2 separate regions of the Homo sapiens genome follow, and region 2 is linked to region 1. The links are contacts of gene promoters, found by promoter capture Hi-C in human tissues and cell types (Jung and others, 2019). All regions are on one chromosome and are shown on one strand. Each heading gives the region's core, a stretch centred on a gene start or on the middle of the fragment in contact. The rest is flanking DNA. Distances are from core to core; before and after follow the strand shown. Region 1 holds the start of SLC16A13 (solute carrier family 16 member 13). Region 2 holds the start of ALOX12B (arachidonate 12-lipoxygenase, 12R type).

The links. The method cuts DNA at HindIII sites, captures the fragments that hold promoters and counts their contacts. A contact is called where the count stands out against the background at its distance.
Region 2: the fragment with the promoter of ALOX12B here is called in contact with the fragment with the promoter of SLC16A13 in region 1 in 1 of the 25 tissues and cell types used here (heart right ventricle).

The regions. Positions count from the first base shown.
Region 1 is chr17:7,034,642-7,037,341 of GRCh38, forward strand. It overlaps SLC16A13 (solute carrier family 16 member 13), which reads left to right and starts at 1,374. Exons shown (of 4, transcript NM_201566.3): 1 at 1,374-1,940; 2 at 2,086-2,229. The coding sequence starts at 1,742. RefSeq lists enhancers at 813-1,313, 922-971, 1,702-1,941. The HindIII fragment of the contact is 7,914 bases long and covers 1-2,700 here.
Region 2 is chr17:8,086,450-8,089,149 of GRCh38, forward strand. ALOX12B (arachidonate 12-lipoxygenase, 12R type) reads right to left here and starts at 1,267. Exons shown (of 15, transcript NM_001139.3): 1 at 847-1,267. The coding sequence starts at 993. MIR4314 (microRNA 4314) reads left to right here and starts at 1,607; the gene lies at 1,607-1,698. RefSeq lists an enhancer at 295-1,043. The HindIII fragment of the contact is 32,393 bases long and covers 1-2,700 here.

The DNA.
Region 1 (2,700 bases), core at 124-2,623:
AGCCTGTAATCCCAGAAACTCAGGAGACTGAGGCAGGAGAATCACTTGAACCCGGGAGGTGGAGGTTGCAGTGAGCCAAGATCATGCCACTGCACTCCAGCCTGGGCCACAGAGCAAGACTCCATCTCAAAATAAATAAATAAATAAATAAATAAATAAATAAATAAATAAATAAAAGACTGGAACTGTGATCTGATTCTAAAGACCCGAGTTCTTAATCACTATGTAATACAGCCACAGCAATTTCTGTATCTTTGGCATATTCCCCACCAGCCGACATTTTGACTCTTAGAAAGTATATATGTGTATTATTGATGATTACTTTTATTTCCCACATATAAAATTATTTAAGGCTCAATATGTCTTTTAAGACTACACACCTCCCTCCCTGCCTCCACTTCTTGTTTGCTGCTTTCCCCAGTAATCTGGGAGTGAACATTGAGTCCACGGTTTCAAGGTCAGGGTCCTGGGAAGTATGGCTTATAATGAAGGAACAGGAAATCCAAGCCATTGGTGTTATGGAGACTGGGAAGGACTGGGGAGTGTTTGCTAGGGGCCTGAGGACTACTTGGGTAAGAGGGGGCTGACTGCTCCAGTGGCCAGGGTCATAGTTTGTCTCTTTAGTCTACCCCACCATCAGATCAAAAAAGGTGGTTAGGAAGTGGTTGTTACTAGAGGGCAGAGGAAAAGGTTCCAGCCCCAGTGAGGAAGAGGTAGGTGGTGTTGGTGGGGCCCTGTGTGAGCTTACAGCCGCCCTTCCTCTCCTCAGTTATTTTTGGTCTCTGTGACCTGTAGGTTTCCTGTTAGTGGGAACAGAAGTGACAGGAACGAGTTCCCACTACAGAAATGAACGCCAGGAGTCCAACTCATTCCCCTTCTCTCTTCCCTTAGCCGTTGAACTTCTCAGGGATCCAGGCTTCTAGGTCTGCGTGCCTAGGGCTGCGTGTTAGTGGCTTCAGGCGCTGCGCCAAACACTTCGTTTGAGTCTCATCTCCTAACCCCTCCCCTACCCCCAACAGGGCCTTGCAATTCCTGGACCCCTCATTAAAGCAAGAGAGTCCTCTCCTCTCCAGACCCAGTTTACCCACCACTAACCCTTCCGTGTGGCTCTGGGTGCTGAAACGGGGATGACTTGGCCCGCTAGGTGAAGAGGAGACGGAAGCTTCCTGGCAGTCCCCGCGTCACGTGGGGCCCTACCTAGTCAGCCTCCTAACGCCCCTCCTTACGCATGCGCCCATTCACTGCTGGTCCCCAACAATGCCTAAATCCCGCCCTGCCCTTCTCGTTCCGCCCCTGCCCGGGAGCCCCGCGTCCTCATTGGCGAGCTCCAGGGTGGCCCGGCCCGGACACCCCAGTGATAAAATAGATCATCTACACGGAAACTGGCGCGCTCCAGGGGTGGGGCCCAAACTCAGTTCCACCCTCTGGCTCCCAGCCGAACACCGAACCGGGACCGATCCGGCCCCGGCTTGAACTAGCTCAGCTCCGAGCTCGCGGAACCACGCCCCCGGGAGACTCTGGCCCGGCCAGCGCGGGCCAGGTCTTCAGTCCTATATCGCCCCGCCTTGGGAAAAGGTGCAGGGGCCTCTCGCCGCCTCGTCGGGCCCTTCCTCTCTACCTGCCTCTCCAACCCCTCTCGGCCCCGAGCCACCCGGCAGCGGGGGTGGGTGTGCAGAGGTGCGGCGTCCAGAACCCGGCTCCTGCAGAGGCTCTGGGTGGCAGCAGCCCTGTTACCGCTTAGATGGCGCGCAGGACAGAGCCCCCCGACGGGGGCTGGGGATGGGTGGTGGTGCTCTCAGCGTTCTTCCAGTCGGCGCTTGTGTTTGGGGTGCTCCGCTCCTTTGGGGTCTTCTTCGTGGAGTTTGTGGCGGCGTTTGAGGAGCAGGCAGCGCGCGTCTCCTGGATCGCCTCCATAGGAATCGCGGTGCAGCAGTTTGGGAGTGAGTGCGGCGCCTGGATCTGGCGGACTGCGACCCTCGGAAGGGAGAGGGAATGCGGCGACTGGGAAGTGGAAGGGCGAGGGGCGGGAGATGCTGGGGGGGAGACCCCTGAGATCTTCTCGCAGCGCCCCTTCCACTTCCTCAGGCCCGGTAGGCAGTGCCCTGAGCACGAAGTTCGGGCCCAGGCCCGTGGTGATGACTGGAGGCATCTTGGCTGCGCTGGGGATGCTGCTCGCCTCTTTTGCTACTTCCTTGACCCACCTATACCTGAGTATTGGGTTGCTGTCAGGTGAGAGCCTGCACAAGGGCAGGAGAGTCAAATGCTTAGATCGTTGGATGTTCACCTCCTTCCTGCTCCTTCCAAAGGGTTCGGGGAGAAGCTGAGGGAAAGTTTAGCTAGCACCTGTACCCAGAAGGGAATTCTTAATAGGAATGACTAAAGCGACAAACATGGTGAGGAATTAGGAAATTCAAGGATGATGAAACCTGGCCGGGCACGGTGGCTCACGCCTGTAATCCCAGCACTTTGGGAAGCCGAGGCGGGTGGATCACGAGGTCAGGAGTTTGAGACCAGCCTGGCCAACATGGTGAAACCCCGTCTCTACAAAAATACAAAAATTAGCCGGGCCTGGTGGCGCTAATCCCAGTTACTCGGGAGGCTGAGGCAGGAGAATCGCTTGAACCCGGGAGGCGGAGGTTGCAGTGAGCCAAGATCGCACCACTGCACTCCAGCCTGGGCGACAGAGCAAGATTCTGTCTC
Region 2 (2,700 bases), core at 17-2,516, 1.1 Mb after region 1:
TCCTTCTCTCCATCCCCAGCTCCTGTCTTCTCCCACTCCCCTCTCCAGGCACCTGAGGTTGCAGGAACCCTTCAGACCCCTGGGGACTTGGGTACCACTCTACAGTTTTCGAGTGGGGAGAGGCCCAGCCAGCCCCTTCTCCCATTCATCAATGAAGATGCAGATATTCAGAATGGCCACATAGATAGAGTGACCTATTAAGGTCGCCTAGCAGCAGGTGGCTGGGTCTGACTGAAAATCAGGTCTGAGGACCCGCAAAGCGTGCCTTCCACTGGACAGGCTGGTCTGATGCCATTTTAAGTCACAGAGAATCCAGTGCAAATGTGAGACAGTTAGGAGGCAGCTGAATTAGGAAGAGTGACTGAGAATGGAAGAGAGAGGGATGCGGGAGAGGGGGTAAGACAGAAAGGGGAGGAGAGCAAAGGGGAAGGAAAGCAGGTGGAAAGGATTGAGAAAAGAGAGATGCAGGATAGGCAGAGACAGGGAGAGAGGGCTGAGGAAGAGGGAGAGAGAAGAAAAGGATGGGGAGGGAGATGAGGAATGCCTGAAAGGGTTAGAGATGAAGGAGCAGGATGGAGAAGGATGGCCCAGAGATCTGGGACATGGGCGAGGGGCTGGAAGCCAGCTCTGGACAAGGCGTGTAGAGCCACTGGGGAGCCCACTGCCTTCGGAGCTGTGCCTCAGCTCTCCAGCCTCTCCTCGCCAAGCTCAGCTCACCTGGCTCCCCCTGCGCACCTTCACCCCTCCCGGGGCCACAAAGACACACAGACACACACAGACACACACAGACACACACACACACACACACAGACACACACACACACACACACACACACACACTCTTACCGCCCCAGTTGCAAAGTCTCTCCCAAAGTGGTTCAGCAGCTGCTTATGGCTCTCTCCTTGTGTCCCCACAATGGTCAGTGAGATGGAGTCCCGTGTTCCCGACAAGAGGTCGGTGCCTGTGGCCACCCTGACTTTGTAGGTGGCCATGGCTGCTCTTCAGGAGGCAAGAGGGGCACTCAGTCCCAGACACCGTGGAGGGGCCACACGAAGGCCCAAGGCAGGCAAGAGAAGCCAGGCACAGAGTGGAGTGGACAGGGCTGGCCTCCGAGGTGCAGTGGTGAGGTGGCGAGGTGGGGTGACTAGGCCTGCCAGCCAAATTCTGGAAAAGCTGCTGCCCTTGGTGGCCGGGGTGGGTGCCGGGCAGGCCCAGGCGGAGCCCAGCTGGTGGTGAGTGAGCAGGTGTCTGGGCTCCAAGCCTTCTGGGAGCTGGTGGGGAGGAAGAGCAGGCAGGGCACTGGGCCTGCCTCTGAAAGGGCGGATAGAAGATGCCGTGGATGAAGGCGCCTTCAGGGTGGGGGAGCCAGTCCAGCCTGAGCCAGGGCCCTAGGGAAGTTGCGGGAGGGGGCAGGGTGTGGTCCCCAGATCTTTATCAGACTAATAAGCTCCTTCCTCCTGCCAGTCCCCATTGGCTACAGTGCCAGGCACCCCTACTAAGCAGGGCCATGGGCAGTGAGTGACTTGCATTGGTTCTGAGGCCACTGGTGGGCGGGGGAGGGGAGGGGGAGGGGCACTAAGTGGCAGCGCAGCTGGCCAGCCTCCAGGCCATTCCTCTCTGGGAAATGGGACAGGTAGTGGCCACAGTGAGAAAGCTGGCCTGTCCTTCTGCCCCAGGGCCCAGAGTCTGTGACTGGAAGGGTGGGAGGTGTTGAAGCTAGGGCTCGGGGACCACATGGGTGCCCAAAGGCCTGAAGATGCTGCGGGGAGGAACGATCAGGGTAGGAGAAGGGGATCTGTTGCTTCCTGTGGGGCCAGGATCCACTGGTGAGGGATTGGAGTTGGATATAAAATCAGAAGCCCAAAAAAAAAAAAAAAAAAACTAAATTAGAAGACAGAGTGAAATCTGGGGCATAAGAATTAAGTTAAATAGCTGGGCGTGGTGGCTCACGCCTGTAATCCCAGCACTTTAGAAAGCCAAGGCAGGTGGGTCACCTGAGCTCAAGAGTTCGAGACCAGCCTGGCCAACATGGTGAAACCTTGTCTCTACTAAAAATACAAAAATTAGCCAGGCGTGGTGGCATGCGCCTGTAGTCCCAGCTACTTGGGAGGCTGAGGCAGGAGAATCGCTTGAACTCAGGAGGCGGAAGTTGCAGTGAGTTGAGATCGTGCCACCGCACTCCAGCCTGGGCAACAGAGCAAGACTCCGTCTCCAAAAAAAAAAGACAAAAGAATTAAGTTAAATAATGGATTAATATGATCAATATTTTGTGGTATAATCATAAAATAGAATTCTACCCAGGAATAAAAAGAATGAACTGCAATGCGGATGAGTCTCACAAAGATGATACTGAGCAAAAAGAGCCAGACATTAAAGGGGATACGTTCTGTTATCCATTGATAGGAACTTCCAGAACCAGCAAAACTGAGCAATTCTCAGACAACCTCTACTGGTGAGTATCCCTGGCAGAGGGAGGCCATATAGGCTGCTGGAGGTGTTCTTATCTTGATCTGAGGGGCGTCTAGGGTACTTCATTCATTTCATTATGTGTTATCCTTTAATTTCATAAAGTACATACCCTCACTTCCCTCCCAAAAAAGAATGAAGCTAGGAAGAGGGCTGGAGGCAGGGCTGAGCTCCAGTGGAACTGTGTTTGTTGGGAACCAGGTCGTTCCTCCCTCAGATATGTAGTGAGCACG